Regions from separate parts of the Homo sapiens genome. Here region 1 is linked to region 2. Evidence: promoter capture Hi-C in 16 types of primary human blood cells and fetal thymus (Javierre and others, 2016). All regions are on one chromosome and are shown on one strand. Each heading gives the region's core, a stretch centred on a gene start or on the middle of the fragment in contact. The rest is flanking DNA. Distances are from core to core; before and after follow the strand shown.

Region 1 (6,071 bases), core at 1,595-4,094, 270 kb after region 2:
GCCTCATGGAAGGTATTTACTGTTTTGTGCCGCTAACAGAATACCTGAGACTGGGAAATGTATAAAGAAATTTATTTGGCTCACAGTTCTGGAGGCTGGGAAGTCCACAGGCATGGTGCCGGCATCTGCTCAGCATCTGGTGAGGGCCTTCTTGCTGTGTCATCCTGCAGCAGAAGTGGAGGGACAAGAGAGCATGAGAGAGGAAGGGAAAGGGGACCAAACTCATCATTGTATCAGGAATCCATTCCTGTGATAATGGCATTAATCCATTCATGAGGGCAGAGTAATCCATTCATTACATAATCACCTCTTAAAGGTCCCACCTCTCAACATTGTTTCATTGGAGATTAAGTTGCCAATACATGAACTTTGGGGGACACATGCAAACCAAACCAGAAATTTTCTTTGGCCCACTTTCCTAGAAGAGCAGCTAAGGTTGGAGAGGCCAGAGGATCCCCCTGAGGGGACAGAGACCCATTTTTAAGACTAGATACAGCAGGATAGGAGGTATTAGCCTGAGTGAGTAGGGTGGGCAAGAGGAGAGGAGACCTGGCTTGTCCTGGTCCCATGCCTGCCTCATTTGGAGAAAACAATCTGCCCCCAGTGCCAAAAGCTCCTCCAGCTCCCAGCAATCAGGGTGAACTCAGGAGATAGGAGTCAGGGGGCCAACTCCAGACCTGGTTCTGTTACCAACTGGCTATGAGATTGCTCACTCCAAAGCTCAGTTCCCTCATCTGTAAAGTGGGTTGGTACCACCTACCTCCCAAGTGTTCGAAAAATCAAGTCAATTGGGGAACATGAAAGAGCTTCCCAAACTACAATCATACAAAATTCACTAGAAACATCACAAGTTTGATGCAGGAAGGGAAAGGCCATGAGAAGCCACCAGTCCAACATCTACCTTCTATGGAAGAGGAAATAAGAGTCCCTGGCCCAAGGGCACTTGCCAGAACCTGTGTCAGATCTCAAGCTTCTTGACTCGCTTCTCCTCTCTGCTTCCTTTCGGTGTACCCAGGCTGAGGCCTTGTACACTCAGTTTCCCAAGGCTGGGTGGTTGGGGTTGGTGTACAAAAAGGAGTTACAGATTAGAAGCTCTTAGAAGTCCTGCCCAAAGTTAGAGTGGATTATGCAGCCTGCAAACCAATGGTTAGCAGAGGAAGGGGTTGACTGAGAGCATCAGCTTGCAACTCCACCCCCCACCCCCAACAGAGGGGTGACAGTACATTTCATATGGCCTGAGGAAAGGCTACCCAACCTACAGCCTCTGCAGCTGCTGGATGATCCCAGGGTCAAAACAGAAGCCATTGGCACGGATTCCAGTGCCCCCAGCAGCAGTTACTATGCATTTCACAAGCCCTGAGGACAGACTCCCCTGCCCCACAGCCACTGCCACTGCCAAAGCACAAGCAAAGTGCATGCTCCCCAGCTCCCTGCCTACTGCTGCCAAAGCACAAGCAAAGTGCATGCTCCCCAGCTCCCTGCCTACTGCTGCCAAAGCACAAGCAAAGTGCATGCTCCCCAGCTCCCTGCCTACTGCTGCCAAAGCACAAGCAAAGTGCATGCTCCCCAGCTCCCTGCCTACTGCTGCTGCCACTGAAAGCAACCCTGTGCTCCCCAGTAGCAGGGTGGCAGTGACACCTCCACCCCAACATACCACCAGGAGCCTAGGGATCACCTGCCTCTGCCTAACACAGCCAGTGCCTACACACACTACTAAGGGGCCTAAGGAGCCAGGCCTGGCTCCACTCCTCCTTCCCAGTGCCTAAGCATGTCATCTTTGGGTATGGGAATCACCCAACCCAGTTCATCACCTTTGGCACCCAAACACTTTCCCAGGGCCTGAGATCAGGCCCACCCAACCTGCCTCTACCACCACAGCTGACACCCACACATACGTACGCACTATGTGCCTAGGGACTGGCCTCCCAAGCCCAATGCAGCCACCAGAAATTATTTAATAAAATCATGTATCAATAATAACCTTGAATACAAACAGATTAAACTTTCCAAATAAAAGACAAAGACTGGCTAAATGAATTAAAAAACATGACCCAACTATATGCTTCCTAAAAGAAACTCACCTTATGTATAAAGACACATATAGATTTAAACTAAAGGGATGAAAAAAGTCCATGCAAATGAAAACCAAAGGCAAGCAGGAATAGCTGTACATATAAGAGATAAGACAGACTTTAAGTCAAAAACAATAAAAAGAGATAAAGACAATCATTATATAATGATAAAGGGATCAATTTGGCAAAAGAATATAACAATTCTAAACATATATGCACCCAACATCAGAGCACCCAGATATATAAAGCAAATATTATTAGATGTAAAGAAAGAAGTAGACTCCAGTACAATAAGAGTTGTGAACTTCAACACCCCACTCTCAGCATTAAACAGATTATCTAGACCAAGCTTGTTCAACCTATGGCCTGCAGGCCACATGCAGCCCAGGATGGCTTTGAATGCAGCTCAACACAAATTCATAAACTTTCTTAAAACATAATGAGAGCTTTTGCAATTTATTTTAAGCTCATCAGCTATTCGTTAGTGTTACTGTATTTTATGTGTGGCTCAAGACAATTCTTTTTCCAATGTGCCTTAGGGAAGCCAAGAAATTGGACACCCCTGATCTAGACAGAAAATTAACAAAGAAACATTGAATTAAAACTGCACATTATACCAAATATACCTAACAAAAATTTACAGGACATTTCATCCAACAGCTACAAAACACACATTCTTCTCATCAGCATATGGAACATGCTCCAGGATAAACCATATGTTAGCACACAAAACAAGTCTCCACAAATTTTTAAATATCAAAATCATATGAAGTACCTTCTCAGACCACAATAAAATAAAACCAGAAGTTAATAACAAGAGGAATGTTGGAAACTGCACAAATATATGGAAATTAAACAACATGTCCCTGAATGGCCATTGGATCAAAAAAGAAATTTAAAAGGAAATCAAAAAATTTCTTGAAACAAATGAAAATCAAAACACAACATACCAAAATCTATGGGATACAGCAAAAGCAGTGCTAAATGGTAGTTTATAGCAATAAATGCCTACATCAAAAAAGTGGAAAGAATTCAAATAATCTAACAATGCACCTCAAGGAATGAGAAAAGCAAGAGAAAACCAAAACCAAAATTAGTGGAAGAAAAAGTCTACACTGTATGTATCAAAACATAACTTGGGATTCCATAAATATGTACTATTATTATATGCCAATTAAAAAAGAAAACAAGCTTTTAAAAATAAAATAAAATACCTAGGAATAAATTTAATCGTGAGGCAAAAAACAAGGAAAACTACAAAACACTGATGAAATAAATTAAAGAGGACACAAACAAATGGAAAGAGAGCCTATGTTCTTAAATCAAAATAATTGATGTCCTTAAGATGACTATACTGGCCGGGCACGGTGGCTCACACCTGTAATCCTAACACTTTGGGAAGCCGAGGCAGGTGGATCACCTGAGGTCAGGAGTTCAAGACCAGCCTGGCCAACATGGTGAAACCCCATCTCTATTAAAAATACAAAGTTAGCCAGGCATGGTGGCACACACCTGTAATCCCAGCTACTCAGGAGGCTGAGGAAGGAGAATCGCTTGAACCTGAGAGGTGGAGGTTGCAGTGAGCCAAGATTGTGCCACTGCACTCCAGCCTGAGCAACGGGAGTGAGACTCCATCTAAAAAAAAAAAAAAAAAAAAAAAAAAAAGATGACCACACTGCCCAAAAAAACCACAGATTCAAGGCAATCACTATCAAAATACCAATGTCAGTTTTGACAGAAATAGAAAAAACAACACTAAAACTATTCTGGAACCAAAAAGGAGCCTAAATAGCCAAAGCAATCCTGAGCAAAAACAACAAAGCCGAAAGTTTCACACTAGCTGACTTCAGAATATATCACAAAGCTATATTAACCAAAGCAGCATGCTATTGGAATAAAAACAGACACATAGAACAATAAAACAGAATAGAGAATCCAGAAATACATGCATGTGTTTACAGCCAATGATTTCCAACAAAAGTGCCAAGAATATACATTGAAGGACAGTCTCTTGAATAAACAGTGCTGGGAAAGTTGGATATCCATATGTGAAAGAATGAAACTAGACCCTATTTCTCACTATACAAAAAATCAACTCAGGATGGATTAAAGACTTAAACGTAACACCCAAAATTATAAAACCAATAGAAGAAAGCATAAAGCACAGGGAAACACTTTAGGACTTTGGTGTAGGCAAAGATTTTATGGCTAAGACATCAAAAGCATAGGCAACAAAAACAAAACTAGACAAATGGGACTATATTAAACTAAAAAGTTTCTGTGCAGCGAAGGAAACAATCAATAAAGTGAAGAGACGACCTCCTGATTGGGATAAAATATTTACAAATTATTCATCCAACAAAGAACTAATATCCCGAGAATATCCAAGGAATTCAAACAGCTCAGCAGTAAGAAAACAAATAACCTCATTTAAAAGTGGGCAAAGTGGGGAGGAGCCAAGATGGCCGAATAGGAACAGCTCCCGTCTACAGCTCCCAGCGTGAGCGACGCAGAAGACGGGTGATTTCCGCATTTCCATCTGAGGTACCGGGTTCATCTCACTAGGGAGTGCCAGACAGTGGGCGCAGGTCAGTGGGTGCGCGCACCGTGCGCGAGCCGAAGCAGGGTGAGGCATTGCCTCACTTGGGAAGCGCAAGGGGTCAGGGAGTTAGTTCCCTTTCCCAGTCAAAGAAAGGGGTGACGGACAGCACCTGGAAAATCGGGTCACTCCCACCCGAATACTCCGTTTTTCCGACGGGCTTAAAAAACGGCGCACCACCAGATTATATCCCACACCTGGCTCGGAGGGTCCTACACCCACGGAGTCTCGCTGATTGCTAGCACAGCAGTCTGAGATCAAACTGCAAGGCGGCAGCGAGGCTGGGGGCGGGGCGCCTGCCATTACCCAGGCTTGATTAGGTAAACAAAGCAGCCTGGAAGCTGGAACTGGGTGGAGCCCACCATAGCTCAAGGAGGCCTGCCTGCCTCTGTAGGCTCCACCTCTGGGGGCAGGGCACAGACAAACAAAAAGACAGCAGTTACTTCTGCAGACTTAAATGTTCCTGTCTGACAGCTTTGAAGAGAGCAGTGGTTCTCCCAGCACGCAGCTGGAGATCTGAGAACGGGCAGACTGCCTCCTCAAGTGGGTCCCTGACCCCTGACTCCCGAGCAGCCTAACTGGGAGGCACCCCCCAGCAGGGGCACACTGACACCTCACACGGCAGGGTATTCCAACAGACCTGCAGCTGAGGGTCCTGTCTGTTAGAAGGAAAACTAACAAACAGAAAGGACATCCACAGCAAAAACCCATCTGTACATCACCATCATCAAAGACCAAAAGTAGATAAAACCACAAAGATGGGGAAAAAACAGAACAGAAAAACTGGAAACTCTGAAAAGCAGAGCACCTCTCCTCCTCCAAAGGAACGCAGTTCCTCACCAGCAACGGAACAAAGCTGGATGGAGAATGACTTTGATGAGCTGAGAGAAGAAGGCTTCAGACGATCAAATTACTCTGAGCTACGGGAGGACATTCAAACCAAAGGCAAAGAAGTTGAAAACTTTGAAAAAAATTTAGAAGAATGTATAACTAGAATAACCAATACAGAGAAGTGCTTAAAGGAGCTGATGGAGCTGAAAACCAAGGCTCGAGAACTACGTGAAGACTGCAGAAGCCTCAGGAGCCGATGCAATCAACTGGAAGAAAGGGTATCAGCGATGGAAGATGAAATGAATGAAATGAAGCGAGAAGGGAAGTTTAGAGAAAAAAGAATAAAAAGAAATGAGCAAAGCCTCCAAGAAATATGGGACGATGTGAAAAGACCAAATCTACGTCTGATTGGTGTACCTGAAAGTGATGGGGAGAATGGAACCAACTTGGAAAACACTCTGCAGGATATTATCCAGGAGAACTTCCCCAATCTAGCAAGGCAGGCCAACGTTCAGATTCAGGAAATACAGAGAACGCCACAAAGATACTCCTCGAGAAGAGCAACTCCA
Region 2 (6,224 bases), core at 940-3,439:
CCTCCTGGACAGCTTCCAACCTTCTACACCCCACCTGAAATAGGCTTGGAAATTATCTTTCAAGGCTAAATAATATAGACAGGTAAATAGAGAAAGATACAGTGATAGCAAAAGAGATATATAATTTCTAAGCAATAATATCTGAGGAAACAAGTGGGTCAGAAGATAACAGCAGAACAATGTATTTATACAGGGCTTGTGTGAAAAGCTTAGCTGTGTTGTCAGGATTAATAGAGAATTATATAGTAGGTAAGTTCACATGAGACAGGAAAAGAGAAACATAATATTCTTGCCTCCTATCTGCTTGGTCTTGCTCTTCTTTTATTATGCTGGGCCTTGGGATGGAAATTTCAGAGAACAGAATCTATCATAATTATCATTTCCTTCTCTGTCTTAGGACAAATACACAAGTCTGACACCCCTAATTTAGTATATGTGTCCCCATCCCCTATCACAGATTTGGTGGAATTAGTAAATAAATGAGCCATTCTCATTCTTGAAAACATAAGATACATCTATGTGCAAAGAAAGAGTTGCATGAAACATAAAGCCAGAGGACATGTCTTATTCAAAGTACTTAATAAAAGGAATTGGACATAAGGATGGATTGGTAAATATAAGCAAAAGAATACACATACTGGCTTAGGTGAAAAAATGATTTTCTAGCAAGCATAGGTGTCTTACTCAGAACCTGCAGCCCTGGAATGTTTCAAACTTCCTAACACTGAGTGTTTCATCAGAAGCTGGACACCACCAGTCAGAATGAATGAAGGATTCCTATGTCAGATATACTGTTGGCCCTCACCCAGGTCCTGAGTAGATAGTTCACCAAATTCCCAATGACTAAGAAAAGAAACTCAGATTTTCAAAGTCTTCTCTTCAGCAAATGAAGTTGGAAGCATCTTTGTGTCTTTCGGTGAAGTCACCTGGAGACCCATGGGTCAAGTCTCTGTCAAGTTACTGATAGGGGTGAGGGCACTGTGAGAAGACAGCACAGTCAGCACATTCAATCCACAGGCTACCAGAGGACACAGACCCATGAGTCCTGAACAGACTGGTGGCTCTGAGTTTCAGGACATCATTTTTTTTTTTTCCAAGAAAAAACTAAACATGAAGATCCTGGCAGCCGTGCACATTCTACCATAGCCTGTCTCCAACTCCAGCAGACAAGCCAACCCATTCTTTCTCCACCTCACCCTCTACATATCCTTTCTTGGGAATACTCCCAAGATGCTCTCACGGATTTGCTTGGTCTTGACACCATAGATTATGGGATTGACCATGGGTGGGAAGAGCAGATAGAAATTGGCAAGGAGGATGTGGACATGAGGGGCAGCATGGCGGGCTACACGGTGCATGACTGAAGAGATGACCACAGTTGTGTAGAAGGCTAAGATGGCACCTATATGAGAGACACATGTCCCAAATGCCTTGTAGCGGGCCTCCTGAGAGGCAAGCAGTAGAACTGCCTGAAGAATAAAGATATAAGACAGGATAACAAGGAGCAGGTCCAACACCACAATAAACATGGCCACAGCGATGCCATAGATATTGTTGAAGCTAGTGTCCCCACACGCCAGCCTCACCACAGCCATGTGTTCACAGTAGCAGTGAGCGATCACTGGGCCTCGGCAGTAGTGGAAACATCTCAGCAGGAAGGGGAGTGGAGTCATTAGTGTCACAGCCCGGGCCACAGCAGCCATGCCAATCTTGGTGATGAGGGACCCAGTCAGGACCTTGGTGTAGTGCAGTGGCTTGCAGATAGCCACATAGCGGTCAAAGGCCATGGCCAGCAGCACTGCTGACTCCATGATGGAGAAGGAGTGAAGGAAGAACATCTGGGCCAGACAGGCAAAGAAGTTTATCTCCCGATCCCTGAACCAGAATATGGCAAGCATTTTGGGCAGTGCTGAGGAGGAAAGGACCAGGTCGATGGCTGCCAACATGGCCAGAAAGAGGTACATGGGTTCATGGAGGGCTGCATCAGCCTGGATGATGAGAAGGAGAGTGCAGTTTCCAAGCAGGGCCAGTGTATATGCTAAGCAGAAAGGGATGGAGATCCAGATGTGCAGGTGTTCCAGGCCTGGAATCCCCACCAACAAGAAGGCAGTTGGATGTGTTAAGGTGATATTGGAGGCTGACATGGCTCCTGGGAATTCTCTTCCTCCTTATCTGCTTCCACAGGGCCCTTCCAGAGAATATTCAATATCAGCAGAATTACAATGCTCACATTCAAACTCTGATCATTCTTGTGAGAAGATTAGTTCTTAGACCCATTTTTAGACATGAAAAGAAATGAGAAAATAATCATATGTATCATGAAATATTATGCATGATCCTTGCCCTTAAGCTGTTTATAAAAACACTGGGTGCTCAGGACATTTAATTCCAATAAAGCTAGTATTACAAAGCAGCCTTATTGAGAAATCAAGTGGAGGAAGAGCCTTTTGTGGCCTGCATGTGGCCAAAAGCAACTTTGTAAATAATACAGATTGCTGCTTAATTCAAATCATACCCACAAACATTTACCGTCACTGTCTTCCTATTGCCTTCCAATTCAAACTACACTCCCAATTATGAAAGAGTTTCTGCCCTGAAATGTCAATCTTGGTCATATGAAAAATAAATGTAGTTAGCACTTTCTAATAATTCACTTCCCTACAAGTTCTTTAGATTTTTTTTCTAGCAGGGTTTCGTAGGTCCTTGTTTGACACTCAGAAATCCCTCCAACTAAAGCCCTACCTCCAGGTAACTTGAGAACATGAGAAGCCCTTTTGTTGTTCTCTTTTGCCTAACTGTAGTTTAACCTTCATCTCTACGTGCTTCTTCCTTCCTGGACTTCATGACATTCAGAAGAAGAGATGCCCCACACTTACCTTTTTGCAAGACTGACCTATTCCCTTCACACTATTTTTCCATCTGGGATCCTTATCATTCTATCTTTTTCCACCTTCTGTTGTCATTTCCCTTGAAAACGTTTAAACATTTCCTTGCAATATTTTTGACCTGTGCCACCTTTTTTTTCAGCTCCTGCCTAAAAACTTTCTTTTGGGGATTTTGAGATCTTTTAAAACACTTAGCACAAATCTTGAAACAGTGCTCAGTAAACGTGGACACTTATGAATTGAGAAAACAAAAGACTAAGTCACTAACAATCAGAACAGTTGGAAAACGTCAAAGATGAAACTTGAGCTTCGAGAACTCTGGTTTGCTGCCTCCCAATCCAATGTCTTAAATCACTACACTCTTCTGCTTCTACCTCATTGCTTCCTAAGAAGTATAAATCCAGCATATTCAAGTTAACAGAAATATAACTCAAACTCATTATCATGATATAGGAAAAAAAATTAGAATCTAAAGACTTGGGTTTAAGTAATGATTGAGCCATCAGCCTACCAATAGAAACTAGTATTAATCACTGAAATTTTTAAAGATTTAGGTTCCTCACCTATAGATGAAGGCATAACCATATCTTCCATGACAATTTTACTGCTTCATGATGAGGAAAGATAAAATCATGAGAAGAGTCCCTGTAAACTGTAAAGCATTGTAAAACTGTTATTTGTCATTACAATATTCCCCCTCCCACACAAATCTGCCCCCTTTTTTAAAATGTTTTTCTTGACATCAGCACAATCCCGCATTCCTTGGCCTTATATCTCCCTCCATCTAACACCCGCAACTGTTTTCCTTCACAACAATGTTTGTTGAAAAAGTTGAGTAATTCATTATCTAATTCCTCATCTCTTAATTTTTAATTCCTTCCAATCTAGCTCCCATCTCCTCTACTCCCCTTATATGATCTTATCATTGCTTGTGTATTCCCCTCTCTCTCTCTTCTTTTCTCTCCTCTTTTTGTTGCCCTTTTATTCTCATACTTCTCTAGGTGCTCTCTTAGGTGGTAAAAATGCCAAGAGAAATCAATATTCAGGGAATGCTCAACTGTCTAGCTTCTACTCTGAGTTCCCAACTAGCATATCCTACTTCCCACTGGATAGTTCCACTTTAAAGTCTCAAACAAAATAGGGCCAAAACAGAAATCTGTCTCCACAAACTCTTTCCTCTCCATGACTTGCCCATCTCAGTATGTATTATTACCATCCATCCTATAGCTAGGTCAGAAACCCAGGGTGTAATCCTTGATTCAGTCCCCTTCCTCATCCTTTATATCCAATTTCAAAAGGCAAGTGTGATCGACCTATGTGTTCCAGTCCCTACTCTTTTTGTGTGCCTTGCCAAGCACTCTTATTTAAGTCACCATCATCTTTCATCTGGACTACAAAAGTCTTCTAACTCTTCTCAGTGGTATGGAATCTTGTACCTTCTATAATAATTCATTCTCTGTACTGCAGCCAAAAAGGCCATTTAAGAAAGCAAGTTCTATCAGGCAAGGCCTTCACTAAAGCCTTCATGGGCTACCATTGTACTTAGGATGGAATGCACATTCTAACTCTGGCTTACAAGATCCTGCTTGGTCTGGTCACTACTCACTTTTCAGCCTCATCTCTTCCACTTCTTTCATTATTCTCCAGGCATATGGCCTTCCACAGGTACTGGAGCTCATGGAGTTCTTTCTCAGTCAGTGATGGTGGCCCTTGATTCTGCCCCTGAATTGTCTCATGCTGTTCTTCTTCTCTCCATGCCCTGTGCCTTCCATAATTGACATATCATCATCTCTTTCCCCTGTCAGTATAAAAACCTCCTTAGTTTTCTACCCCTGCTCACCTCATCCACTACAGTGCGACAGACCACATATTTTATTAGTTTGGTGCAAAATTAATTGTGGTTTTTGCCATTACTTTTTATGCAAAAACCGCAATTGCTTTTGCACCAACCTAACACTTCCGTGCTGAAAACCACTTATAGGATCTCATTGCTACAAGAAAAATAAAAATCACTAAACTTTTGTGAAAACCTATTCCTGCCTAAATTGTTGGCCTTACTCCTTTTAGTCCCCTAAATATTCATCCTAGGTTCAACCACACTGGGTTATTTGCCATTTCCTAAAAGGGTAATGTTTGTAGCTCATACTGTTTATCTGGAATTCTTTCCTCTGTTCCCTTTCATACCTAATCAAGATCCTGCCACCTTCTTGGTGAAGTCTTTTCAGACTCTTTCAGGAAGATGTTCTCAGTCATTTCAATGAAGATTCACTAACGCATTGAATCAAATAGCACAATGAGGGTACCACCTGTGTTACCTCTGCATGTATCTCATAATTCATCGGGCCATGAATTCTTTGAGTACAAAGCCTGTGACTTTATTCACTTCTATATTCAGACTTTACTGAACATGGTTGATACTCAATAAGTGCCTTTTTATTTTTAACCTTTTTAAACTTTTAGGTTCAAGTCCTATGTGTATGTTTGTGATATAGGTAAATGTGTGCCACGGGGGTTTGTTGTACAGATTATTCCATCACTCAGGTACTAAACCTAATACCCAATAGTTACTTTTCTGCTCCTCTCCCTCCTCCCACCCTCCACCTTCAGATAGGCCCTCCATAAAGAACAGCACTAGGAAAAGAAAAGTGCTATTTTAAATGAATGCATGAATGATTCCCTTCCTGGAGAAACTTACTCCTTCCTTCCCACTGCATAATATACCACCCTCTGATCCAAACTGAGACTCACCTCCACAGATGCAAAATTCTATGAAATTTCCCGTCACTTTTTGTTACCTAGGTCAGACTAAAAGCCTCTTGTTAGAAACTCTGCCTCAAAGTCTAACTTATATCTGTGCATTTTCTCCAGGACTTAGCTTTGGGATGGACGCGTGGAAGCTCCATGATGAAAGGACTCTTTTGTGTCTTCACCACAACTATATCCCATATAGGCACTTGCTGACTATTTCTTGAATACACAAAAGAATGTCCTCTTAAACATGTTGTCACCCTTATCCTAAGTGGATATGCTTCAGTTCCAAACAGGGCTCCCCTCTCCCTGAGTGGCCTCATCTCCCTCACTCCCAGTGTGCTCCTGCTGCCCACACCTGGCCCTCCCATTTATTTGTCCTCAATCCCACAGCTTGCCTATTCTGTTTTAAAATGCCTGAGAATCCATCAGCTTTCCCTCTTTCCAGTGTCCATTCAAATGTACCTCTAATTCCATTCACCATCTGACTCTGCTTATCTGGTCTTCTGCCCAACACCCTTGAACCTGTTTGGTATGAGTGCTTTGTCCGGTCCTTACATGTCGTCGTCTTTTGTTTGTTTCCTGCCTTCA

Evidence for each region. The method cuts DNA at HindIII sites, captures the fragments that hold promoters and counts their contacts. A CHiCAGO score of 5 or more calls a contact.
Region 1: a fragment that was not itself captured here is called in contact with the fragment with the promoter of OR52K2 in region 2 in 13 of 17 cell types (naive CD4 T cells, total CD8 T cells, naive CD8 T cells and 10 more); the score reaches 9.8 in naive CD4 T cells.

The regions. Positions count from the first base shown.
Region 1 is chr11:4,174,725-4,180,795 of GRCh38, reverse strand. No RefSeq gene overlaps it. Among named protein-coding and RNA genes, the nearest start is that of LINC02749, 9.4 kb to the left of the region's middle. RefSeq lists enhancers at 1,002-1,528, 1,529-2,056. The HindIII fragment of the contact is 842 bases long and covers 2,424-3,265 here.
Region 2 is chr11:4,445,260-4,451,483 of GRCh38, reverse strand. OR52K2 (olfactory receptor family 52 subfamily K member 2) reads right to left here and starts at 2,189. Exons shown (of 1, transcript NM_001005172.2): 1 at 1,123-2,189. The coding sequence starts at 2,144. The coding sequence ends at 1,200. The HindIII fragment of the contact is 8,565 bases long and covers 211-6,224 here.